Regions from separate parts of the Homo sapiens genome. Here all the other regions are linked to region 6. Evidence: promoter capture Hi-C in human tissues and cell types (Jung and others, 2019). All regions are on one chromosome and are shown on one strand. Each heading gives the region's core, a stretch centred on a gene start or on the middle of the fragment in contact. The rest is flanking DNA. Distances are from core to core; before and after follow the strand shown. Region 1 overlaps CCDC40 (coiled-coil domain 40 molecular ruler complex subunit). Region 2 overlaps RPTOR (regulatory associated protein of MTOR complex 1). Region 3 overlaps RPTOR (regulatory associated protein of MTOR complex 1). Region 4 holds the start of TBC1D16 (TBC1 domain family member 16). Region 5 overlaps RPTOR (regulatory associated protein of MTOR complex 1). Region 6 holds the start of ENDOV (endonuclease V). Region 7 holds the start of GAA (alpha glucosidase).

Evidence for each region. The method cuts DNA at HindIII sites, captures the fragments that hold promoters and counts their contacts. A contact is called where the count stands out against the background at its distance.
Region 1: a fragment that was not itself captured here is called in contact with the fragment with the promoter of ENDOV in region 6 in 4 of the 25 tissues and cell types used here (adrenal gland, dorsolateral prefrontal cortex, hippocampus and 1 more).
Region 2: a contact is called between a fragment that was not itself captured here and the fragment with the promoter of ENDOV in region 6, in 2 of the 25 tissues and cell types used here (dorsolateral prefrontal cortex and lymphoblastoid cells).
Region 3: a fragment that was not itself captured here is called in contact with the fragment with the promoter of ENDOV in region 6 in 2 of the 25 tissues and cell types used here (IMR-90 fibroblasts and lymphoblastoid cells).
Region 4: a contact is called between the fragment with the promoter of TBC1D16 here and the fragment with the promoter of ENDOV in region 6, in 1 of the 25 tissues and cell types used here (adrenal gland).
Region 5: a contact is called between a fragment that was not itself captured here and the fragment with the promoter of ENDOV in region 6, in 1 of the 25 tissues and cell types used here (dorsolateral prefrontal cortex).
Region 7: the fragment with the promoter of GAA here is called in contact with the fragment with the promoter of ENDOV in region 6 in 2 of the 25 tissues and cell types used here (adrenal gland and mesenchymal stem cells).

The regions. Positions count from the first base shown.
Region 1 is chr17:80,071,861-80,075,924 of GRCh38, reverse strand. All of the region lies in intron 10 of CCDC40 (coiled-coil domain 40 molecular ruler complex subunit), which reads right to left. Among named protein-coding and RNA genes, the nearest start is that of MIR1268B, 25 kb to the left of the region's middle. The HindIII fragment of the contact is 9,664 bases long and covers 1-4,064 here.
Region 2 is chr17:80,835,458-80,839,067 of GRCh38, reverse strand. It overlaps RPTOR (regulatory associated protein of MTOR complex 1), which reads right to left. Exons shown (of 34, transcript NM_020761.3): 10 at 1,071-1,146. Among named protein-coding and RNA genes, the nearest start is that of CHMP6, 150 kb to the left of the region's middle. The HindIII fragment of the contact is 7,748 bases long and covers 1-3,610 here.
Region 3 is chr17:80,700,214-80,703,802 of GRCh38, reverse strand. The region is part of intron 3 of RPTOR (regulatory associated protein of MTOR complex 1); the gene reads right to left. Among named protein-coding and RNA genes, the nearest start is that of RPTOR, 160 kb to the right of the region's middle. The HindIII fragment of the contact is 8,995 bases long and covers 1-3,589 here.
Region 4 is chr17:80,034,052-80,037,837 of GRCh38, reverse strand. TBC1D16 (TBC1 domain family member 16) reads left to right here and starts at 1,966. Exons shown (of 12, transcript NM_019020.4): 1 at 1,966-2,043. It overlaps CCDC40 (coiled-coil domain 40 molecular ruler complex subunit), which reads right to left and starts at 1,196. Exons shown (of 20, transcript NM_017950.4): 1 at 1,147-1,196. The coding sequence starts at 1,175. RefSeq lists enhancers at 394-688, 1,588-1,707 and a silencer at 1,898-1,967. The HindIII fragment of the contact is 13,824 bases long and covers 1-3,786 here.
Region 5 is chr17:80,747,590-80,751,347 of GRCh38, reverse strand. All of the region lies in intron 5 of RPTOR (regulatory associated protein of MTOR complex 1), which reads right to left. Among named protein-coding and RNA genes, the nearest start is that of RPTOR, 200 kb to the right of the region's middle. RefSeq lists enhancers at 2,056-2,555, 2,556-3,057. The HindIII fragment of the contact is 4,968 bases long and covers 1-3,758 here.
Region 6 is chr17:80,413,040-80,416,625 of GRCh38, reverse strand. ENDOV (endonuclease V) reads right to left here and starts at 1,459. Exons shown (of 10, transcript NM_173627.5): 1 at 1,376-1,459; 2 at 805-976. The coding sequence starts at 1,431. It overlaps RNF213-AS1 (RNF213 antisense RNA 1), which reads left to right and starts at 1,458. Exons shown (of 2, transcript NR_029376.1): 1 at 1,458-1,697. RefSeq lists an enhancer at 937-1,026. The HindIII fragment of the contact is 5,195 bases long and covers 1-2,917 here.
Region 7 is chr17:80,100,016-80,102,830 of GRCh38, reverse strand. GAA (alpha glucosidase) reads right to left here and starts at 1,250. Exons shown (of 20, transcript NM_000152.5): 1 at 941-1,250. It overlaps CCDC40 (coiled-coil domain 40 molecular ruler complex subunit), which reads right to left. Exons shown (of 20, transcript NM_017950.4): 20 at 2,218-2,815. RefSeq lists an enhancer at 644-753 and a silencer at 1,084-1,703. The HindIII fragment of the contact is 18,678 bases long and covers 1-2,815 here.

The DNA of each region.
Region 1 (4,064 bases), core at 836-3,335, 340 kb after region 6:
GTTTCCACCACATCGGGAGTGACTTTCTGCGCTGAAGTCCTGAGCCCTCAAAGCCATCCACAGGCGTTACAATCAACTTCTGTTAATGTTGATATTAGGTTGGTGCAAAAGTAATTGCAGTTTTGCCATTAAAGGTGATATTTTGGGGCCGGGCGCAGTGGCTCAGGCCTGTAATCTCAGCACTTTGGGAGGCCGAGGCAGGCAGATCACCTGAGGTCAGGAGTTCGAGACCAGCCTAGCTAACATGGTGAAAACCCGTCTCTACTAAAAATACAAAAATTAGCTGGACGTCTGGCTTCAGCAGCGACCACCCCTGCCTCCACCCTCTGAGCTTTGCATGTTCCACTAACCCGGGGCGGGCGGCAGATGGAGGTGTCAGGCTGCTGGCACCTCTGCAAGGGCAGAACACTAACCTGACCATGAGCGGGGACTTGCACATCTGTCCCCAATAAAAGCAATTCCAACCTTAAAAAAATAAAATTAGTTGGGCGTAGTGGCAGGTGCCTCTAATCTTAGCCACTTGGGAGACTAAGGCAGGAGAATTGCTTGAACCTGGGAGGTGGAGTTTTCAGTGAGCTGAGATCGTGCCACTGCACTCCAGCCTGGGCGACAAAAGAGAAGCTCCACCTCAAAAAAAAAAAAAAAAAAAGTAATATTTTGGGCCAGGCACGGTGGCTCATGCCTGTAATCCCAGCACTTTGGGAGGCTGAGGTGGCTCATGCCTGTAATCCCAGCACTTTGGGAGGCTGAGGTGAGCATATCACTTGAGGTTAGGAGTTCAAGACCAGCCTGGCCAACACGGTTGAAACCCCATCTCTACTAAAAATATAAAAAATTAGCCAGGTGTGGTGGTAAGGACCTGTAATCCTAGCTACTCAGAAGTCTGAGGCAAGAGAATTACTGGAATCCGGGAGGCAGAGGCTGCAGTGAGCCAAGATCGTACCATAGCACTCCAGCCCGGGCAACAGAGCAAGACTCCACCTCAAAAAAACCAAGAGTAATATTTTGACCTCCTCTCATGAATCACGAATATCCTTAACGTTATCTAGAATGGTGAGTCTGTTCCAGAAGGTTTTCAACTTACTTTGCTCAGATCCATCAGAGTAATCACTATCTATGACAGCTATAGCTTTACAGACTGTATTACTGCAATAGTAAGACTTGAAAGTTGAAATTACTCCTCAACCCATGGGTTGCAGAATAAATGCTGTGTTACAGGTGTGGAAACAACATTCATCTTGCACAGCTCCAGCTCCATCAAAACTCTTGGGTGACCAGGTACATTTTCTTTCTTTCCTTTTTTCGGTTTTAGAGACAGGCTCTTGCTATGTTGCCCAGGCTGGTCTAGAACTCCTGGCCTCAAGCAATTCTCTCACCTTGCCCTCCCAAAGTGCTGAGATTACTTGAGCTAGCATGCCCACCAGGTGCATTCTCTTTTTTGAGACAGAGTCTCGCTCTGTTGCCCAGGCTGGAGTGCAGTGGCGCGATCTCGGCTCACTGCAACCTCCGCCTCCTGGGTTCAAGTGATTCTCCTGCCTCAGCACCTGCCGCCATGCCTGGATAACTTTTTGTATTTTTAGTAGAGACGGGGTTTCACCGTGTTAGCCAGGATGGTCTTGATCTCCTGACCTCGTGATCCGCCTGCCTGGGCCTTCCAAAGTGCTGGGATTACAGGCGTGAGCCACCGCGCCCGGCCGGAAGGTTTGATCTTCTGTCCATACCACCTGAACTTTCTCCAGACGCGCAATTAGGCTGCTTCCCTTTCTTTTGTGTGTTCATTAGAGCAGCACTTTAAATTTTCTTCAAAAACTTTTCCTTTGTGTTCACAACTTGGCTATCCCTTTGGTGCAAGAGGCCTAGCTTTTGGCTTATCTCAGCTTTTGACATGCCTTCCTCATGAAGCTTAATCATTTCTAACTTTTGATTTAAAGTGAGAGGCGGCCAGGAGCGTTGGCTCACACTTGTAATCCCGGCACTTTGGGAGGCCGAGGCAGGCAGATCATTTGACGTCAGGAGTTCGAGACCAACATGGTGAAACCCTGTCTCTACTAACATACAAAAATTAGCCGGGCACGGTGGCAGGCACCTGCAATCTCAGCCACTCGGGAGGCTGGGGCAGGAGAATCGCTTGAACCCGGGAGGTAGAGGTTGCAATGAGCCAAGATCGTGCCACTGCCCTCCAGCCTGGGGGACAGAGTGTCTCAAAAATAAATAAATAAAATAAAAATAAAGTGAGAGGCATGAGACTCTTCCTTTCACTTGAGCACTTAGTGGCCATTGTAGGCCTAATTTCAATACTGTTGAGTCTTGGAGAATAGGGAGGCCCAAGGAGAGGGACAGAAATGGAAGAACGCCAGCCGGCGAGCAGTCAGTACACACACGACATGTCTTGATTCAGTTTGCTGTCTTAAACAAGGGCAGTTCGTGGCTTTGCCAAAAACCAATTACAATAGTTAACATCAAAGGTCACTCATCACAGATCACCATAACGGACGATGACAATGAAAAAGTTTGAAATATTATGAGAACGACCAACATGTGGTGCAGAGGCAGGAAGTGAGCACGCACCGCTGGAGAGATGGTGCCGGTGGACTTGCTCCACACGGAGCTGCCGTCAACCTTCAATTTGTAAAAAATGCGATTCCTGTAATCCCAGCACTTTGGGAGGCTGAGGCGGGTGGATCATGAGGTCAGGAGATCGAGATCATCCTGGCTAACACAGTGAAACCCCGTCTCTACTAAAAAATACAAAAAATTAGCAGGGCATGGTGGCATGTGCCTGTAATCCCAGCTACTCTGGAGGCTGAAGCAGGAGAATTGCTTGAACCCGGGAGGTGGAGGTTGCAGTGAGCCAAGATCGCCCCACTGCACTCCAGCCTGGGTGACAGAGTGAAACTCATCTCAAAAACAAACAAACAAACAAACAAACAAACAAACAAAAGCGATTCCACGCAGTAGGAGAAAGCGAGGCACACTGAAACGAGATGCGCCTGTATTTACCCGGGAGAAACGGAAACACGTCTCCATGCAAAGATCTTTTCAGGACAGCCACAGCAGCTTTCTTCACGGTATTCCAAAGGTAAAAGCCAAATGTCCATCAGTTGGTGGATGGACAAATACATCTGATGTATCCGTGCAAGGGAATACTATTCAACAATAAAAAGGAACAGACTACTGATCTTGCAACATGGGTGGGTCTCAAAAGCATGATGCCAAGTGGAAGAAGCCAGACAAGAAAAGCTACAGACTGCGCGATTCCATTTATATGACATTCTAGAAATGGCAGAGCTATAGGCACAGAAGGCGGCACAGCGGTTGCCAGGGCTGGAGGTATGCAATTTTGTACATAAATTATCCCCAGTCATCCTGACTTCAAGTAAATAAGTTACTCATTTTCTTTTTTTAGGAAGGAGCAGCCTTATAAATGTCTAAATTTGACAATAAAAATAAGATGCCCAATTTAAAAAGATACAGTTACAAACTGTGCAACAGAACTCCTAACACTCGGGGAAATGTGTGCCTGAGAGTGTGCTGACATGCTAATGAGTCTTCTTGTCACAAAAAGAGAAAGTCGATGGTATTTTTAAATCCTTTTCTCTGTTTTTCAAATGTCCTGTAACGCAATCACTTATCCTTGATAAGGATTATTATTTTTTTAAATCGTACTTTAAAAACTCCGTAGATCAGCAGGCACCAATAGAAAGTACAGGTTCTCCTCAGCTTACGGTGGGGATGCAGCCCGGCAAACCCATCGTAAGTTGAAAATATCCTAAGTCCAAAATGCAGGCTGGTGCCGTGGCTCACGCCTGTAATTCCCAGCACTTTCAGAGGCCAAGTGGGGGCAGATCACCTGAGGCCAGGAGTTCAAGACCAGCCTGGCCAACATGGTGAAACCCCGTCTCTTTTAAAAATACAAAATCAGCCGGGCATGGTGGTGGTGCATGTCTGTAATCCCAGCTACCTGAGAGGCTGAGGCAGGAGAATCACTTGAACCCAGGAGGTGGAGGTTGCAGTGAGCTGAGATCGCACCATTGCACTCCAGCCTGGGCGACAAGAGTGAAACT
Region 2 (3,610 bases), core at 304-2,803, 420 kb before region 6:
AAGTCTGTGCAGTGGACGGAACCTTCCTGACCATCGGTGCCCCTGCCCTGGGCTGGAGGGTGGCATCCTCACATCAGTGACAGCTGGCTCTGGGGCAGTGCCTGCACATGAATTCCCAAGGGCCCTGTGCTGGGCTCTGTCCAAAGCACTTTTCTTACATTAACTCCCTTTGTCCTTCCAGCACCCCTGGGGTTGGATACCACCATAATCCCTCCCTTAAATGAGGAGACGACCAAACTTGCCCTCGGTGGCAAAGCTAGGCTCTGTGGCTCTGGAGCCTGACACGGTGGTGTCTCAGGTGTGGCCCCAACGGGAGGCGGGGATGCTGGTCCCCTCCTGCCTCTGCCCAGGCTGCCGCCTCCCCCATCCCTGGCCTCCCCGTGTCTGCCGCGCCCTCTTGCCGATTGCTCCCTTGCATTCTGCACAGATGTGAGAGGCTCCTCTTTCCTCACGGGTTTCTGGAGGGCAGGGCCTCCGTCTTATTTATCTATTTTCAGACTTGGCGCCTCACGTAAGGCAAAAGCTCATTAAGAAACCACGAGGGGGTCCTAGGGAGCTGCCGCGAAGGCCCGGGGCCACCCTCACTTGCAGGTGCGGCGACTAAACCCAGGTTCCGCCGTAGGGTGGCTCAGCTCTCCAGCGCCCGTGCAGTGCGGCCGGGGGCAGAACGCCCTCCAGGGTTCAGCACCAAACCCCCCGTGGGTCACTGTCCCACAGGGCTGAGAGTCAGAGGCCTGGGGGAGATCCACAACGCGTCTGTGGTGAAAAGGCTAGAAAGTGTAACAGGATCACCACTCACAGGGAGTGAGTCCGCATTAAGAAAAGTAGATCTGTAATAGCAAAATTTTGAGATAGGACTGTTTTAAAAGTTGATTCTTTCAAAGTTTAACTTTAAACCCTGGTTGACTCGATGTTTTAAACTCTGGCAACTACATTTTTTCCAGGCAGGTGAACAAAATCTGACACCCGAGAGTCCTGGGCACCACCCCCAGTCTGGGGGCTTTGCAGTCCAGGTGCCCAGAGAAGTGGCTGCCGCCGCGGATGCACAGGGTGCCCTTGGAGGGACTCACCCGAAACGCAGTGCCTTCCTCGATGATCGTCGGCAGCTGAGACAGACAGATGTCAACAGCCAGGTCCCAGGCTTGCCTGCGGAGAGAACAGAGGAAATCCACTGAGCATTATGGACGGGCTTCCACACGAGGCCACTTCACAGGGCACAGGAGGAGCCGGCTGAGCCTGGGCAGCAAGGGTCTGGGCGGAGGCCACGGCAGCTGGTGGGGGGCATGTTTACGGTTTCACTGCTGTTCAGATTTGGGCTGCAGAAGACGTCCGAGGGGAGGCCAGGAGAGAGTGCAGGCCGGGAACGCTGGCGCTGCCAGCATCCTCACCATTTTGTCACATTTTTTCTCTTTAAAATAAAATAAGAAAAAAAGCCTGGAAAAATAAAGGAATGCTTCCCATTTTCTGCTGTGGCTTCTGACTGTGACTTGAACCCATGTACTGGCAGCCCACGTGTTCTAAGCAGCTGTGGTCCCTGCGCAGGCTCTGATGGGGCAGCGTCCTGGAGGGACGCGGGAGAGACACCAGGGCCAGGCCCAAAGTGCCTCATCAGGAGGGGTCGGCATGCAGTCAGGGAAAGGAGTCCTGGCGGTCAGGGCTGAGCTCTGCGCTGTGATGGTGCCGTCAGGCCCCTCCCTGTCCCTCCCTTGCCTCCCCCCTGCTGCTCCCTGGTGTGGACAGCCACCTGCTCAGTCAGTTCCTGCTGCCTCCCTGTGGGTCTCACCAGGCACCCTGCAGTCTGGGGTCTCCTACCATGCATAGAGCTGCTCCCCCCAAGCCACAGTGGCTCCACAGATGACCCCGGTGATGTGCTTCCCCTGTCGAGACCCCTTGTCACAGTAACCGACCACACTGTCCCTCTTGAGTTCTCCCCCTTGGACATTATGAGGCTTTCTCCTCCGGCCTCCTTCCCGTCACGGTGAACGTGAGACAGCCTCCTCCCCGGGCTCCCGACCCCGTCCTTCAGGGCCGCACTGCTGCAGCTTCCACAGCCCTTTCCCTGCCTGCTCTCATCCTTGCTCAGGGCGCCCAATGCCACCTGCTCACCGACACCCCCAGACGCTATTTAAAATAGCCTCACACCTCTCCCCAGAGCTCCACACCCCAATTCTACTGTAGGAACAGCCGGCAGTCTGAATTGGACCTCACACCTCCAGGCCAGTTCCTGGGATTCCCAGGTGTAGGCAACAGCCTTATGGGGCACCCCCAGCCACCATCGCCACTTTCCTGACATGGCCTTGTCAGAGCCTCGGTGTTGTCCTAACAGCCCCCTCCCAATGGGCCCCTCTGCCGGCACCTCCCTCCAGGCCAGCTGCCCTGTGAGCTTTCTCGGAGGCTCTAACACAGCCCCCCTAAGCCTTTCTGTGGCTCTGGCCTTCTCGTGGTACCCCAGGCCTGGCACACCCCAGCACCTCTGACATCTCTAGCCCTGTGGCAGAGGGACAGCAGCTGCCTCTGACCGACCCCTGCTTTGTGTCAGCTGCTCTACAAGGACACTGTGAGGGAGACATGATCATGAGACTGTTTCACCCTAGAGAGACAGCCACGCGCCCAAGGCCGCAGAGCCACACGCTGAATTACAGACATCCTGCAGGTGCCCTGGCATCCAGCCGTACCCAACTTCTTTCCCAGTGCCAGGCACATAGCAGGCTTTCAATATGCATTGGCTAAATGAGAGTGAGGGCGAGCAGGAAAGCACCCTCTGTGCATGAGCAGCCCCGTGTGACTTTCGAGAAGGAGAGAGGGAAGAAAAGATCTGACCGGGAGCCATGAGCCTGGGCTCTGCTCCCAGCTCTGCTACCCACTAGCTCCGGCCCAGGGAGCGGCTGACCTGCCTGCCTCGCTGCCTCGCCCGGAGGATGAGGGCCTGACCAGGGAGCCCGTGTGGGAGGCTGCTTGGTGAAATTCAGCGTGTGGCTCTGGGGCTCTGGGCGCGTGGCTCTCTCTCTAGGATCCGTTTCACCATCTGTGAAATGGGCTTATGATCATGCCTCCCTCACAGCGTCCTCGTAGAGCGGCTGACACAAAGCAGGGGTCAGTCGGAGGCAGCTGCTGTGGCCCCGCCACAACATCCAACATGAACTCTCAACTGGAAGTGAATCATCACCTCGCTCTCAGCACAGCCACAGAACACAGTCTTGATCTCCGCGGATACAGGTTGAGTATCTCTTCTCTAAAATGCCTGGGACCGGAAGTGTTTTGGGTTTCCGATATTTTCAGGTTTTGGAATATTTGCATATACATAATGAGATATCAGGGGATGGGACCCAAGTCTAAGAGTAAACTCCATGTATGTTTCATATACCTCTTACACACACAGCCTGAAGCGAATTTTACACAATTTTGTGCATGAAACAAAGTTTGCGCCCGCAAGGTCGGGAGGGGAACTGTCCACCTGTGGCAGCGTGGTGGCCCTCACAGAGTTTCGGATTTTGGAACATTTTGGATTTTTGAATTAGGGACACTCAACCTTCGTCGTAGGGATGGAGGAAGGACAGCAATCCCTTCAGCCCTACTCTCCCTTTCTGCTAGAAATATGTTCCTTGTGGAA
Region 3 (3,589 bases), core at 945-3,444, 290 kb before region 6:
GCTAACTTGGTAGAAACAATTAGAGGTTTTCCAAGAAAGCGTTAGCCCAGCTCCAGGCCCCAGGGCAGAGGTGCAGCCATCACCGAGGCTCCTCCGGCAGTACTGGGGCCCTGGGAAGGAGGGTCTATGCATTTTCCTACCTCCAGGGATGCTTTAAGACAGCTCAAGTAGGGAAGAGCAAAAATGGAGAGGTAGGACTCAAAAAAAACTTTTTTTTTAATGGATGCTAAAGGATATCTCCTTGATCCTCCTGGGTCTCACACACAAGGCGGAATGGGTGTTCCTGGCTCAAGTCTGCAGTCAGGCCAGGGGAAGTGAGCCACCTGAGCTCACGTTTATCAGGAACGTCCACTGAAGCTAACTTCCCACCCCTTCTCCAGGGTCTAGGGTCCAGGTGGGGTGAGCGCCTGCCAGCCTCTTTTCATGCACATTAAAACCACTTCCCCTTAGTGAACACAGGATATGTTTTTCAGAGTCAGAAAGACTTCCGGAGTCATGGGCTGCAGATACAGGTGAGAAAAGAACACATGCAGAGCTTGCCAGACGGCGAGGCAATCAGAAGGAAGGAAAAAGCGCTGTCAACTAAACTCGAGATTTCGGAGTCTAATTCCACAGATCCACCCTGCTTTCTGGTTGCTAAGGCTACAGAAATCCCCCATGCATAGTGGTGAAGAACAAAGGCACGGAAAGATAAGGCACCCCAAAATAAGAACAAGCCACGGTGCTGATCTCCACATCTGTCTCCCTGGAGCACGGGCCCATCGATCTGCAGGGGCTGGGTTCACTGCAGGGCCCACAGATCGCTGGGAGATTTTCTAGTGAAATTGTCAAGTGCCTCCTGCTCCATCTCACTTATTACATTACTGCTGCGGCAGTTTTTCTCAATTCTACTCTCCTCAACACAGCTATCGAACTAGGATTGCTGAAGTCACAGCTCCACAGGAAAATCATTCGCTGTCTCCTGAGATTGCTCCTGAACAGGAGTGCTGTTCTTCCACGCCACACAGAAGGCCACGGGGTAGATTATTCAGGGACACCAATAAAATTAAGGATTCATCATTTCTGACCCTGGCTCTGTGAAGGTCTTATCCCATGGGGCTGCGAAAAACGGATTTAGCTTCATTTTCTTACCTATTGCGTAGAGAAGGCACATTAATGGACTAGCATGAAAGGCGCCACAGATATTAATAATACGCCTCCTGGGGCTTCATGGGAATTAATTAATATTTTTAAGGGCTTTGAAATGAGAAACACTAAATTAAATGTCACCACATTGTGTTAAGGTTTTGTCTCACAACTAGAATGCCAGGGATAATAGCTGTGTGGTCTGAGAGACAGGAGAGGCACGGGAGCATCTGATCATCCGGGGGAGTTACGACAATTTCTGCTGGACATATAAAATGACAAAGCAAGTCTCTAAACTACAGCCTATTGTGCTAGGCATTTTTCCTGAAATGCCAAATCTCAAGGTGCAAGAAAATATATGCACAGGAGTTTTGGAGGATGTGACAGCAGAAGATAATAAAAGAATGAATAACCGAAGAAAAGAAAACAAAACAAAAAACAAAACAAAACAAAAATGGGCCCTTGGTTTAATGAAGGAAAATGCAGCTCCAAATTTCATTTCCTTCTCAGTGACGGGCTCTTGTCCTAAAATGACACCTGGTAAATTTATATGCTAATAAGGCCTAAGAAATGCTACTGCAATCAGATTCTGCATTTTCCACGTAGACTTTTATTGGTATTGGAGCTCCTTCTCATACAAGTGCAGACTTCAGACCCTGGAGAGCCCTGAGCATGGGAGGGACTCTGCTCCCAGTGGCCCTCGTGGCGGCATGGTCCCGCTAGAAGCTCTGGTGAAGCTGCACAAACTGCCGCTGGTGTGGATCAAGGAGAGACGGCCACCTGGGAAGAGGAGGGGCTCAGGGGCTCTACTTGGTGGGTCTTCCCCTTTGACAAAATCCCACCAGGGGTAGCCCTGTGCCGCTGGGGCAGGCTGGACATAGACATCTGTAGAGTTTCTAACAAAGACACTGGCGTCGTACTAGGCTGGGTCTGTGAGTACAAGTGATATCGCTGCCATCCTCCCATCCTATAGCAATGAATAGCAGGTCAAGTTTAGATCCAACAAACCGAAATGCCTGCAACACTCTCAGAACTGTCCTGGAGGAACAAATGTCATTTCAGGACTCAGGCCAGTTCTGGCCCCATCTGGGGTCTAGTGAAAGTTTCACCCTACCCCTCTCCTTCTCAAGTAGGATGCAAAGATTTCCAGGGAAATGTTGGTAGGAGGGACCTTTAGGCGGACCTGACCTTCTTCCCTGCCCGGCATTTCCCTGGAAGGCCTCGCCTCCTATAGCCCTTGTTTACCCTCACCCTTAAGGGTGTTAGGATGAAAAACAAGTAAAATACAGAGAAACAAAACAAAAGCCAAAAAGAGTGATGGCAAATGCTACCTTTCGGTTGATATGGAATGAGCATTATGGTCTCCGTGAGAATAAATGGCAAGAATATATAACCTGTGCCCTTTCCCATGATTCCACCCTAGTGCAACCAGGTGGAGCCGCTGAGGACACAGAGACTTCACAGCATTTGTTCCCAGATGTGAAGCAATCCATCAGTGTGTCTGAGGCCTTTCAGCAGAGAGGAATTGTCCAGTGCACATCTTCTGTGTCTTCCCTCCTAAGCTTGCTCCCCTCTCTCCTCAATCCATATGGATGGGGTCACTAACCATTTGGACAACAGAAACCTGAGAATCACCCAGCTGGACAACAGAAACCCAAGAATCACCCTTGACACCTTCTTGTCTTTCACCCTTTCCATTTTTATGTCATCAATCATTGCATCCTGTTGAGTCTACCTCTTCAATCCTGACTGAGTCCATCCACCTCTTTCTATCCGTGCTATCAATACCCAGGTCAAGCCACTACCAAACCACCACTACCACCACCATCATCTCTACCATCACCACCACCACCACCATCACCATCACCACCATCATCATCACCACCACCACCATCATCATCTCTACCATCACCATCACCATCATCACCACCACCACCACCACCATCATCACCACCACCACCACCACCATCACCACCACCATCACCATCACCACCACCTCCATCATCACCATCACCATCATCTCTACCATCACCACCACCATCATCGCCGCCACCACCACCACCATCACCATCATCACCATCACCACCACTTCCATCATCACCATCACCATCATCTCTACCATCACCACCACCATCATCATCACCACCACCACCACCACCATCACCATCACCATCATCTCTACCATCACCACCACCATCATCACCACCACCACCACCACCACCATCACCACCACCACCATCATAACCACCACCATCACCATCACCACCACCACCATCACCACCACTACCACCATCACCACCACCACTTATCTATTTCTTAGATCATTGGAGTAACTTCCCAACTTATCCTCCAGCCTTGTTTCACTCCAAATCCATTCTCCAAAACTCAATAGGTCCTTCTCCCGCTTAGAAACCTTTGATGTCTTCCCACTAACTTTGAAAACTCTTTAGAAAGACCTACGAGT
Region 4 (3,786 bases), core at 717-3,216, 380 kb after region 6:
ATATAACTTGTGTCTGGGACAAAACTGGGGAAAAGAAATACAACGTAGAGAAAGTAGCGCGATCAGAGTAAGTGTTCTGGGGACTCTGAGTTTCTCCACGATTTACGTAGCACAGGAATATATATATATATATATATATATGTATATCTTTTTTAAAAAATTAAAGATTCAAGCTATTTTTATCTGTCAAAGGAATATAGATATGTTCAAAGAGACAGACAGTGACAGTTCCCTGTGATCTTCCCTTTCCTTCCCAAGATAATCATTGATAACATTTAGGACCACATTCTTTCAACATTTTTCTATGTTTTAAACACACACACACACCCTGAATTAGAGATCATAGTATACCTACCCTTTTACATTTATGCCTATCGTTTTATTAATAATACCTTTAGTCTTTCCATGTCAATACATACAGACCCACCTTTAAAAAAATGAAACAATACCGATGTGTCTAAGGTAAAAAGGCCAAACTCTTTCCAATCGTTTCTATCCTTTTAAACAGAGCCTAAGCGAGCAGAGGCCCGGTGGCAGGGATCTTCACTCAGCCGCCCTCCCTGTGCGCGCTCAGTGCTTCCACCCAGGCCCCAGGACGGTGACCGCGGACTATCGCGGGCCGCCTAACCGCAGGGACCCCTCCCATCGCGGGTCACCCCCAAGCCTGCGAGAGGGGATCTGTCCTTGCAGGAGGGAGGCGCGGGGCCGGGCTGGTCTCCGGCCACAGCGAGTGGCCCCGGAGCAAGGTCAGGGGCGGTATCCAACAGCCCCGCGCCCTGCAGAGCCCTCTACTCTTAGGAGGACTGCGCGCAGGGACCGCCACGCAGAGTGGTTGCCATGGTGACTGCAGAGTGAGCGGTCCCGGGTTTTAGAGGGAGTCGCGCGCTTGGAGTAGGGGAAAGAGGGAGGCCGAGAGAGGACAAAGGGACAGGAGGGGAGAAGTGAGAAGGGTTGGCGGGGGGGTGAGGGGCTGAACGCAGTGGACGGGAAAGGCCAGCAAAATGGCGAGAGAAGGGACACAGGCGAGAGGAAGGGGGAGTGGAGGCGAAGGGGCGAGGCAGGAGCCGACGCGGGGGCCACCTGGAGCGGTGAACGGAGAGCGCGGCCTGGCGACTCCAAGACCCGCTGCCCCTCGGCCCGGCTTACCGGCCCGCCGCGCCGCCCGGTTCCGCCATTTCCCGTTGCTAGGCGACGCTGTCAACATCCGGCCGGGCCGGGACCACGCGCGCTGCGAGGGCGGGGGCCGCCGGGGGCGGCGCGGCCTTTGTGCCATCTCCACGCACGCAGAGGCGCGCGCCGTCTCGACGTGTCGTCCCTTAGACTGTAATGATTAGAGCACGACCATGCTTTTCCTTTATCGCTCTCTGCGCCCGGGTCCCGCCTCGGCTGCGCTCAATTTCTGTAAAGCGACAGCGGCGTCAGCGTGTGCCCAGCGGGCGGCTCGAGGTCCCGAAGGGACCTGCCGGGCACCTGGGGACCCCGGACTGCTAAGCGCCCGGGAATGGCAGGCGGGCTGGGGGCACCGGGGGCCGGGGACCCCGCGCATGGCGAGCGCTTTTCCATCTCCTGCCCTAGGGGGCTCCGGTGCCCTTCTCCAGGGGTCCTACGGAGACTCCTTGCATGGACGCCCGGGGGGTCTTCCGGAGCGTATCTTCCCTTCCTAGTCCGAAATAGGAGAAATCTCCCTGCAGAGGGCGGCAGCGGAGGGCCAGCGCGCACGCGGAGCGTCCGAGGAGCCCTGCCTTTCCTTTGGGGACGCCAGGCTCGGGACGGGGCACAGTCCCCGAGGCCGGGACGCGGCGAGGCCTGAGGGAGGGCCAGCAGGGAACTAGAGGCTTGGGCCCAGGGCTGGGCCAGAAGGTGGGCGGGGAGACCGGCGGGGGCAGGCAGGGGCCGGGCCGGGGGCGGGCCCGGGGGCGGGCCGGGGGCCGGGCCTCCCCGCGCGTCCCCGCCCCGCCGCGCCTCACTGGCGGCGGCAGCGGCGGAGGCGACGGTGGCGGCTCTCGGAGCCGGCGCGAATCCGGCCCCCGCAGCGGGACCCGGGTGGGTATCGGGGCCCGGACGGGGCCGCGGGGGCGGGGTCCGAGGGGTCCACCGCGCAGCGAGCAGCGCCCCCTCGGCGGAGCTGGGGCGGGGGCGCGCGGGGCGCGTGGGGCGCGTGGGCCTGCAGCCGCGGGACCGGGGAGGGGCCGGGGTCCGGCCGCCGTCCTCGGGGTGCGGGGCGCCAGCAGGAGCGGGAGCGTTGTGGGAGGACCTGGATCACGGAGGGGCACCTGGGGACTTTTCCCCGCGGCGAGTGAGGGCGCCCGGGCCCGGAATGGGCCTAATTCGGGGAGACTGGTCCCCGCCTGTCTGGAGCGGTGGACCGGGGAACTTGCGGTCTTTGTCTGGCTGAATCGGCGGAGCAGACGGATGAGAACTTGTGGGGTGCCGGCGCGCGCCCACACAGCCTCCAAAGTGTGCGTCCCCCCAGCAGCGCGCGCTCAGCTTTCCCGGCCTGTCGGGCTTGGTGGTCTGGGCTGTTTAAGATCCGCGTGTCGGGATACTCACTTCCGTTCCGCCTGGGCTCCCTTGTTCTTTCCTTTGGGAAAAAAAAAAAAAGAAAAAGAAAGAAAGAACGAAAGGAAGGAAAGAAAAAAAGGAAAGGCAACTGAAGATTGCTAAACATAACCTAGGGGATCCTGCCGGAAGCCGCTGAATCCTGAAATCCTGTGATTCCCACACTCGGAAGCTGGTGTCGTATATTGGCCACAAAGTAGTTCAGATTTGATTCAGAAATAGGAAATGAATAGAAAAGACATAACAAAAGTTAGTCTCGCCTTATGGTAAAGTTTGTTTTACTGTCTGGGTCAAGTTCAAATGAGAAGCTGGGCTGATTGGCCAGCCTCTGCGACTTGATCCTGAAGATCTGCTTTCTTTTCTACCAGAAGGCTCCTAATTCTTTTATCTGGAATAAAAAGGGAACTCCGTCTTAAAGATGCTCACGTGAGGCGGCATATTGCCAGAGGGTGGGCGCAAAGACTGGGGGCTGGAGATTCCATTCCAAATCTGTTACTGATTGATCAGAACACTTTTTCAAATCCATGCCTCAGTTTTAGAAAATCCTCATTAGAAACGCTAACAGTAAAATTGGTGAATACTAAACACTTTTAAGAACCATGAAAGCTTTTGTAAATAAAGAATAAAGTGAGGAGTAACTTTTGGTATTAACTACAAAGTTCATTAATGGATGTTGTTTGCATCCTGAGCGTGGTTATTGTGCGCATATTTTTTTGTAAGTGGCATGTTTATGGTGAGACTATGGCTAACGAAAGTTTTTATGGCGAAAGTTTTTATGGCTGGGCGCCGTGGCTCACGGCTGTAATCCCAGCACTTTGGGAGGACGAGGCGAGCGGATCACCTGAGGTCAGGAGTTCGAGACCAGCCTGGCCAATATGGTGAAACCCCCCATATCTACTAAAAATACAAAAATTAGCCCGGTGTGGTGGCGTGAGCCTGTAATCCCAGTACTCAGGAGGCTGAGACAGGGGAATCGCTTGAGCTCGGGAGGCGAAGGTTGCAGTGAGCCAAGATGTGCAACTGCACCCCAGCCCGGGTGATAGAGCAACATTCTATGTCTCAAAAAAAAAAAAAAAAAGGAAAAAAAAAGTTTTTATCTGTGGAATTATTTAATCCTCTAGCAATTTTGGTGATTGCGTTAGTAGTTCCTAATTATCATGCATGAATTCACTTAACCCACAAAACAAGCTCATGAAGTCAGGACTGCAGTTATGCCCATTTACAGAT
Region 5 (3,758 bases), core at 317-2,816, 330 kb before region 6:
CACATGCGTCCAGAGTGCCGGGCACTGCCCCTGATTTTAGGGCTGCTTTTGCCCCATTATCCCATCTGGGTCCTTCTGAATCTCCACCAAGCACCTACGACGCCAACACGAAAGCTGCCGAGCCCTCTCCAGACAGCACGCCCAGTGCTTTCGGAATGAAATACACACAGAGCTGTATTCACTCACAGCCACCTCGCACCACGGTGATGGTACAGAACGCACTGTCATCTGACTCTGACAAACTTTGTTTTTAACATCTCAAATTTCTCAGCTGGAAGGTACTAATGACTGCTAGTTTTATTAATAACCCATTCTACCACAGGAACATTAAACCCAGAGTACAAATCAAATTCTCATATACTTAATAATAAATATAATTTAACTTTTTCAATAAAAACTGCAATTTCTAGAGGAATGAGGTTTTTTTTATGATGATAAATTACCTGTAGCATAAAATTTGCCATGTTAACTGTTTCAAATGTACAGTTCGGTGACATTAGGGATATTTACATGCCACGCAACAATCACCAAGAACCACCAAGGAGTGGGTTTTTTTAAACAAGAGGGAAGAGGGAAGGCAAAATCATGTTTAAAACCATTTCCTGGGCTCTGGGCTCCATAAGCTAAAATAGCATCGGCAATGCAACCTGCTGTACACAGAAAATTAGTTTCCAGGTCTGCTGTGACAGGCCCACTAAGCCAGATGATGGGTCCAGGAACGACGTGGACCTGCAGCTACTCAGACCCGCGTCACAACAGGTGGATGGGATAGGTGGGAGCGGCCATGTGTGCCTGGTGCTGGGAGGGCACGGGAAGGCTATGAGGAAGTGCTGACTCCTGCGCTTGGTGGAAACGCACTCTCCCTGGCCTCCGGAAAGGGGCTGGGAGGGAGGCATCTGAGGCAGACCTCCGTGGAGTGAAGCACACAGTCCTGAACTGTGGAAGGCGCCATTTGCGATGTCTGTCTGGGACTGCTGGCAGACTTGTGTTATTTTAATCAGCACCACTACCACTGGCCACGTAAGAATGGCTGGCAGAGGATTAAAAAGGAAACAACTTTAAGTGGGAGGAAATGGCCCTTTACGCAAAAACTAAGTTCAATATTCCTATTTTCCTTTTCAAAAGGACATGTATATAGCAGAAATATAGCAAAAAATATCAGTGTGGTTTACTAGTTTTAGGTTTTCTTTTTATATAACCAGGTGTGGTGGCTCACATCTGTAATACCAGCACTTTGGGAGGCTGAGGTGGGAGGATCACTTGAACCCAGGAGTTCAAGATCAGCCTGGGCAAGATGGAAAGACCCCATCACTCCAAAATTTTTTTTTAATTAGCCAGGTGTGGTGGTGCATGCCTGTAGTCCTGGCTTCTCAAGAGGCTGAGGTGTGAGGATTGCTTGAGCTCTGGAGTTTGAGACCAGCCTGGGCAATATGGCAAGACCCCTGTCTCTACAAAAAGTTGTTTAAAATCAGCCTGGTGTAGTGGTGCATGCCTGCAGTCCCAGCTACTCAGGAGGCCGAGGTGGGAGGATCCCTTGGGCTCAGGAGTTCAAGGTGGCAGTGAGCTGTGGTGGCACCACTGCACTCCAGCCTGGGTGACAGAGCAAAGCCATCTCTAAAGACAAACAAAAAAAGCCCCCAAAATGAAAAGCTTTTCTTTTTGTTAAGTTGCTCCTACGTTAAATTTACTTTCTAACCAGTCCTGAGAACTGAGCAGCAGGCTCTCCCGCCACAGCCTCCAAACACACACCGCAGCCCCTCCATCCACCCAACAGGTCCTCCCGCCACAGCCTCCAAACACACACCGCAGCCCCTCCATCCACCCAACAGGTCCTCCCGCCACGGCCTCCAAACACACACCGCAGCCCCTCCATCCACCCAACAGGTCCTCCCGCCACGGCCTCTAAACACACCCCGCAGCCCCTCCATCCACCCAACAGGTCCTCCCGCCACGGCGTCTAAACACACACCGCAGTCCCTCCATCCAACAGGTCCTCCCGCCACGGCCTCCAAACACACACCGCAGCCCCTCCATCCACCCAACAGGCCCTCCCGCCACAGCCTCCAAACACACACCGCAGCCCCTCCATCCACCCAACAGGTCCTCCTGCCACGGCCTCTAAACTCACACCGCAGTCCCTCCATCCAACAGGTCCTCCCGCCACGGCCTCCAAACACACACCGCAGCCCCTCCATCCACCCAACAGGCCCTCCCGCCACGGCCTCCAAACACACACCGCAGCCCCTCCATCCACCCAACAGGTCCTCTTGCCACGGCCTCTAAACACACACCGCAGTCCCTCCATCCAACAGGTCCTCCCGCCACGGCCTCCAAACACACACCGCAGCCCCTCCATCCACCCAACAGGCCCTCCCGCCACGGCCTCCAAACACACACCGCAGCCCCTCCATCCACCCAACAGGCCCTCCCGCCACGGCCTCCAAACACACACCGCAGCCCCTCCATCCACCCAACAGGTCCTCCCGCCACGGCCTCCAAACACACACCGCAGCCCCTCCATCCACCCAACAGGTCCTCCCGCCACGGCCTCTAAACACACACCGCAGCCCCTCCATCCACCCAACAGGTCCTCCCGCCACGGCCTCCAAACACACACCGCAGCCCCTCCATCCACCCAACAGGTCCTCCCGCCACAGCCTCTAAACACACACCGCAGTCCCTCCATCCACCCAACAGGTCCTCTCGCCACGGCCTCTAAACACACACCACAGTCCCTCCATCCAACAGGTCCTCCCGCCACGGCCTCCAAACACACACCGCAGCCCCTCCATCCACCCAACAGGTCCTCCCGCCATGGCCTCTAAACACACACCGCAGTCCCTCCATCCAACAGGCCCTCCCGCCAAGGCTTCCAAACACACACCGCAGCCCCCCCATCCACCCAACAGGCCCTCCCGCCACGGCCTCCAAACACACACCGCAGCCCCCCCATCCACCCAACAGGCCCTCCCGCCACGGCCTCCAAACACACACCGCAGCCCCCCCATCCACCCAACAGGCCCTCCCGCCACGGCCTCCAAACACACACCGCAGCCCCCCCATCCACCCAACAGGCCCTCCCGCCACGGCCTCCAAACACACACCGCAGCCCCTCCATCCACCCAACAGGCCCTCCCGCCACGGCCTCCAAACACACACCGCAGCCCCTCCATCCACCCAACAGGTCCTCACGCCACGGCCTCTAAACACACACCGCAGTCCCTCCATCCACCCAACAGGTCCTCCCGCCACGGCCTCTAAACACACACCGCAGTCCCTCCATCCACCCAACAGGTCCTCCCGCCACGGCCTCTAAACACACACCGCAGTCCCTCCATCCACCCAACAGGTCCTCCCGCCACGGCCTCCAAACACTGCAGTCCCTCCATCCAACAGGTCCTCCCACCATGGCCTCTAAACACTGCAGTCCCTCCATCGCTGCCAACCATTTGTGCCAAGCTTCTGAAATCTAACACTTTTCATACCAACCCACCTTTCTTCCAAGTCAGCACTAGAACATAGGATGGCATGGGGTGGTGGGGCGAGTCTCCAGTGTACAGGAGCCACATGAGAACTCAGCAGGTTTGAAGGGGACTTCCTTAGGGACCAAGAAGTCTGTGTCTTGTCCGGTGGAGAGACAAAGCTCCCGTGGTCCAGACGCTGCTGGGTTTGCATCTGCCGTGCCTATCTCAGCCTGCACCCTGAGATGCACGGGCGCTTGGCCCAATGCCTCCTGGAGCACACTGGACACTGGAAGC
Region 6 (3,586 bases), core at 210-2,709:
AGAAACCACTGAGGAGGAACATTTGAGCCAGGGCACCCATGAAAATGCTGCTCAGGAACCCACAGGAGTGATGGTGGCACAGCCAGGGAAGGAGCAGAGGGGAAACAGACAAGGGGACAGATTCCAGCGACATTTAAGAGGCAGAATAAAAGCGAGCTAGTGTGCAACTGGACGCGAGAGGAACGGAGGGGCCCAGGAGGATGCAGATCTCCAGCTTGGGCAACTGGGAGCGTGGTGGACAGGTCACTGAGATGAAGAACCCAAGATAACAATCAGACTTGAAGATAAAGCTCATGAGCTGATTCTTAATAGTCACAGAATTCCCTTAATTTTTGCCTTTTTTTCCCTTCCAAGACTCCCCAGACTTTTTTTTTTTTTTTTTTTTTTTGAGATGGAGTTTCGCTCTTGTTGCCGAGGCTGGAGTGCAATGGCGTGATGTTGGCTCACCGCAACCTCCGCCTCCCGGGTTCAAGCGATTCTCCCGCCTCAGCCTTCCGAGTAGCTGGGATTACAGGTATATGCCACCACACCCGTCTAATTTTGTATTTTTAGTAGAGACCGGGTTTCTCCATGTTGGTCAGGCTGGTCTCGAACTCCCGACCTCAGGTGATTCCCCCGCCTCAGCCTCCCAAAGTGCTGGGATTGCAGGCGTGAGCCACCGCGCCCGGCCAACTCCCCAGACTATTAATGACATCCTACAAAACGAGAAGCCGGGTTCTACGCTTGCACTGCTCCCTGTCCCGGAGACCGCACGCCCGAGCCCACCGAGGGGCCCGCCTCGAGCTCGGCGTCCTCCCAGGTTACCTCGAGCTCAGGGAAGCTGAGCACCACCAGGGAAGCACAAGCGCGGACACTGTCCCCTTTCACGAAGGACACGTCAACGCCCCCGACCCTCTGCAGACCCGAGAAGGCGGGGTCTCGCTGCCACGCCTCGGTGTCCCGGTCTACGACGTGGGCCTTCAGCCGAGCTTGCTCCCTAGGAGGACAGAAGCGTCAAACTTGGTCGGGGTCACACCTCAGACTCTGCCTCCTCCACCCGCGCGGCTGCAGCGGACAGAGCGCCTCTGCCGGGTCTTCTCCCGCTTCAAGGGAAAGCAAGGGACATACCGCCGAGGCCACAGTCCCTAGGAGCCCAGGCGGCGGAGACCCGCGCAAGCGCAGGCCAGACAAACTGGCCGGAAGCGAGAACCGCGCCCACCCCGCGGACTACAATTCCTGAGATCCCTCCGCTTCCGCGCCGGAAACTGGGCTTTGCTTTGGAGTCTCGGGCGGTGGCAGCTCCGATTCCACAGCCTGAAGACTATGAGCTCGGAGGGTCCGCGAAGGGCCGCCCGGCCTCGGCCCCCGCCTCCTGCGCGTCGCCTGACAGCATTACCGTTTCCACAGTGACAGCGTTTCCTCCGGCGGCCCTCCCGCCGCCTCCAGGGCCATGGCTTCGTCCCGGGCACCCCTTCCGCACGTCACTTCCGGAAGCGACTCGCTCTGACGCCGTCCGCCCTCGTTGCCATGGAGACGCTTGCGCTTTCCCGGGCCGCACTTCCCACCCGGGTCTTCAGAAGCCCGTGGCCGCTGGGTGAGCCCCTGCGTGAACGCACACGCACGCACACGGCTTCAGGTTGCCCCGCGGCGCCGCGCGCGATATCGGCTCGGATCCCGGGAGGCCGTCCGCCCCTTTTTCAGCGGATAGCTGAGGCCAGGTAAGTGACCGCGCGAGGACCCGGGAACTCCGTGACGCCCGTCCCGCCTCTGCTGTCCCCGCCGCAAGCGCTGCGCTCTGCACGGCGAGAGGGGCCTCTTGCCCTGTTGAGAGCCGGCGGGCACGGCACTTCTGCGCTTGGAAAAGGGTGGTCCAGCACTGCAGGTCCCACTCCTTGGCCCGGTCAGCGTCCGCCTTTGCTGAACCCCGAAAGGATTCACCAGGTCCAGGACAGCCCGGCAGTTGCCTCAGGAGCACTTACTGAGCGCCTGTCGTTGACGCCCCCACCTCGATGGCAGCTCAGGGGTGCCCTCAAGCTTTTGAGGGCAGGTGTCGTGTATTTAAATTCTTCACAGTTTAGCGGGCTGGACTCACGGGGGTGCTGCAGACTTGGACGGGGTTTCATCTGGGTCGGACCTTGCTGGGCAGAAAGCTTCTCCTACCAGACAAAGTACGGCGACCTTGGGGGGTCTTGGTTCTTACCTCGTGTTCCTCATTGAATGAGTGTTGGTTCAGTGCTCTCGCTGTGCCAGGTGTTGTGCGAAGTACTGTGAGGGAGAATATGTATTTATTTGTGGGGAGCCGACTTTAAACCGGTGGTTGGGAAAGGCCTGAGAGGCGATATTGAAGACACCTGAAGGGTGAGTGAAAGAGCACGGCGGGTGAGTGGAGCAGCTTTCTCGTGCAGGTCCCGGGGTGGGAAAGAGGTTGGTGTATTTGAAGCACTGAAAGGCAGCCACTGAAGCTGAAGTGTAGCAGTTTAACCCATGGTTTTATATTCTCCTGGGAGGATTCAGAAGGGTGTATGTGTGTATGTATATATAATAGCCTGAATATAAACGTCAAGGGTGTTAGGTTTTGAAGGGAAGGTGAAGGTTAAAGAATGACGCACAGTGAGATTGCCGGCGCGCGGGCGGCTCTACAGCAACACAGGTGTATTGCAAACACCTGTCGGGGGCCAGCTTAATGCCAGAGCCCACCAGCGATTACAGGCTGGGGTACTCATAGGCCTGGGCAGGAGGGATCTAGGCAGTATGGCTTGCTGTCCGGGAAGATGTTAACGTGTTCCCAGGATGAGGTGGTTCCGGCAGAATGTGGTGTTCCTGGCGCTTTGTCCCAGCAGAATATGTTAAGAGGCAGGCTGTTTCTCATGGCTCGAACCCCCGTGGAATGTTTCACTTTGACCAAGGTCTACAAAATGGAAAGGGGCTTACAAAATGACGCAGTTTGGACTAACAAAGGGGAAAATACAGAGGATGAAATTAGACTCTAGAGGTTGAGGCTCAGGAAAGGCTTCATACAGCTTTGGGAACTGACAAGGCTTTGAAAGCAGGGTCAGTTTTCAGCGAATGAGCGTCACCCACTGCACCCTGCGCACCCTGCTCCCCTGCTGCGGTGTCTTTCCCACCAGAGTGTAGCAGGACAAGCCGCAGACAAAACCCCTCAGACACCGAGTTAAAGAAGGGCTTTATTCAGCTGGGAGCTTCGGCAAGACTCACGTCTCCAACAACCGAGCTCCCCGAGTGAGCAATTCCTGTCCCTTTTAAGGGCTCACAACTCTTCAGGGGTCTGCGTGAGAGGGTCGTGATTGATTGAGCAAGCAGGGGGTACGTGACTGGGGGCTGCATGCACCCGTAATTAGAACGGAACAGAACAGGACAGGGATTTTCACGGTGCTTTTCTATATAACGTCTGTAATCTATAGATAGCATCACTGATTAGGTCAGGCGTCGATCTTTAACTACCAGGCCCAGGGTGTGGTGCAGGCTGTCTGCTTGTGGATTTCATTTCTGCCTTTTAGTTTTTACTTCTCTCTTTGGAGGCAGAAATTGGGCGTAAAACAATATGAGGGGTGGTCTCCCTTATTCTCCCTCTCTGAGAATCTCACTC
Region 7 (2,815 bases), core at 1-2,500, 310 kb after region 6:
AAATCCCAGGTTGTCACTTGTACTTTCGATCAACTAGTTATAAATTCAGAGGTTCCCAGGACTCCCTCTTCAGGGTCACAGAACTCAGGAAAGTGCGTTTCTTACAGTTGCTGGTTTATTACAAAGGATAAAACTCAGACAGCCGTATGGAAGAGATGCGTAGGGCCTGGTGTGAGGTGGGGGCAGTGATGCTGTGCTCTCTGCTCGCACCACCCTCCAGTGCCTTGGTGTGTTCCACAACCCGGCGGGAAGCCCTCTGATCCCTGTGGTTTCTTACGGGGTTCCATTGTGCAGGCATGGTTGACTAAGCCACTGGTGATTCACTCAATCTCCAGCCCCTCACCCCTTTTCCATCCCAACCCGTCATCAGGCCTTGGTCTTTCTGGCCATCTGCTTCCATCCTGAAGCCACCTGGTGTCCCCGGTCATCAGTCACCTCATGAGCAAAAGGCTCTCTCATCACTCGGTTTCCAAGGGTTTCGGGTGCTATGTGCCAGCAACCAGGGACAAAGACCAGAGACAGTCACCCCTGGCCTGGCCTAAGGGGGTCTTTGTGATTGAGACATTCAGATTTCAGAGCTGGCCCAGGGGCCCCCTCTCAGGCCACGGTGCTCCTCACCCCAGGGATTCAGACCCAGCCATGTGCGTCCTGCAGGAGCAGGAGAGGTGGCTCGGGTCCCGGCCAGGACTGAGCACTGCGTCGATCAAAAGGGGAAAGGAAACCCTAGAAACGGGAAGATGCAGCCTCCAGCCCCAAGCCCAGCACAGGAGGGCGGCTCCCCGTTCATCTCTAAGCTGAACTCAGATAAAGACCGGGAGGACTAGAGGTCTGGGGCTCAAGCTCCGCTCAGGGGAAGAGGCTGGGGGCACGGCTAGGCACGTTCAAACCCGCTTCTGGGATGTTACCGCCGGCAGCGCGGGGCAGACGTCAGGTGTCTCACCCGCTCCGTGCCTCAGTTTCCCCGTCAGCTGCGGCACGCGCAGAGCCTCCCTCGCTGAACAACGGGCGGACGAGGAGAACCTAGAGGTGGCCGGGGTCCTTCGCGTCACCGAGGTCACTGTCCTACCTGCTGCCTCATCCCCGACCTCCACCCGCGGCCCCGGCGACAACCTCAGCTTTCCCAACTGAGAGGCCGCGCGGGCAGCCGACCGCCCCACCGACCCGGCCCGCGCTCAGGGAAGCCCCGCAGCCCCGGCCCGGCTCACCTCCGCGCACGCGCGCCCTGGCCGCCCGCGGAGACTCCGGGGTCGTGCCCGGGGGCGCGCAGAGGCGGGTCACGTGACCGGCGGGAGCTCGTCGCGGGGCGGGGCCGCGGTGGGTCACGTGACGCGGCCTCCCGCGCAGGCGCCCGAGGCAAGGGTGCGCGTCCGCGCTACGCCCCCCAGTGGCGGCTCCGGCAGAGCGGGCCTGGGCGCGTCCTCGCTCTCGGAGGGGGCCTGGGGAGCGCGTCTGGCTGCGCGTCCGGCGTCCCGCGGGGAGAGGCCCACGCGTGCTGCCCGCTGCCGGTTCCTCTGGGGTCAGAGACGGGGCGAGGCCCCCGCTGGCGCAGTCCCGGCCCGGTCCCCGTGGGGTCGGAGATGGGGCGTGGCCCCCGCTGCCCCGGCCTGGGTCCCCGCAGCTCGTAGGGCTTTGTAAGGGGCTGGCCCAGCCGCGCCTTGCGCCCAGGGATTCCTCCTGCCAACGCGTCCCGAGGGCATCATCGGAAAGGCGGCCAAAGGCGCTCAGCGCCAAGTTAGAAACAGCCAACATTTGGAAAGTCCTTAAGTGTGCTCCATAACTCACAGTTATTCCAGAAAGGAATAATCAAAACATTGTGATAACCCATAAAACTGACAATTGAGAAAACATTAAACTGACACAGGGGGAATTTTTTCATAAAATGAGAAAATGCTTACATTAAGAGGAGCACATTTTTACATGTGAGATACAAAAAACACACAGTATAACCTTAACTTGCCTAATAAAATGTATGTGCAGAAAAATACAAAAGGAGCCACACCAAAACACAGAGGTGTTGTTCCTGGGTAGGGGCATAGGGGCATTAAAAGCCCCCTTTCCAGCTTGCAGCGAGCCGAGACCGCGCCACTGCACTCCAGCCTGGGCGACAGAGCGAGACTCCGTCTCAAAAAAAAAAAAACAAAAGCCTCCCTTCCACCTCTGTTGTGGTTTCTGTATTTCTACAATGTTTTAAAATAAGTAAGGCTGACTCAGAAAGGCTTACTAGATATTCAGAAAAAAGATTTTATTCTTCTGCTGAAATGTTTGAAAGTGAAATTATTTTGTAGAGCATTTTCCCTTTAAACTGCAAAGAAGCCCCAAGGTCATTGGTACTTGGAAGTCCAGGGAGAAAGAGCGCTGGGTTAATGATGGAGAAAAGATAGGTGGGCAGACTGGGGCGTAGTCCCTTGGTGTGGACGCCCCAGCGTGCTCTTATTTCAGTGCTCACCCTGTTACGTGTGTCTGGGGCCACTGACTTTCTCCTGCAAGCTGTGGATCTGAATTTAACTCAAATGGGGACATGGGGGCAGGAAAAGGGACCTGAGAGTTCTAAGGGGTGGGGATGGGAAAACTGGTAAAGAAGGTGGTTTGTGGGTTTTCAGATGCACCTAGTAGAGGGAAGTGCTGGGGGGACCAGCCTCCCGGGCCAGGCTGGCTGGAGCTGCCTTAACTTTCCCACCTCTGCTCAGCCCACCAGCTTGTGGACCTGTGGCAGCGTTGTGTTGTGAGAGGCACGTGCAGATTTGGGAGTGCTGCAAACCAAAGTGTTACCTGGACGAGTAAGCCCAGTGTGGGAGTGTGGGTGTGTGGGTCTGCA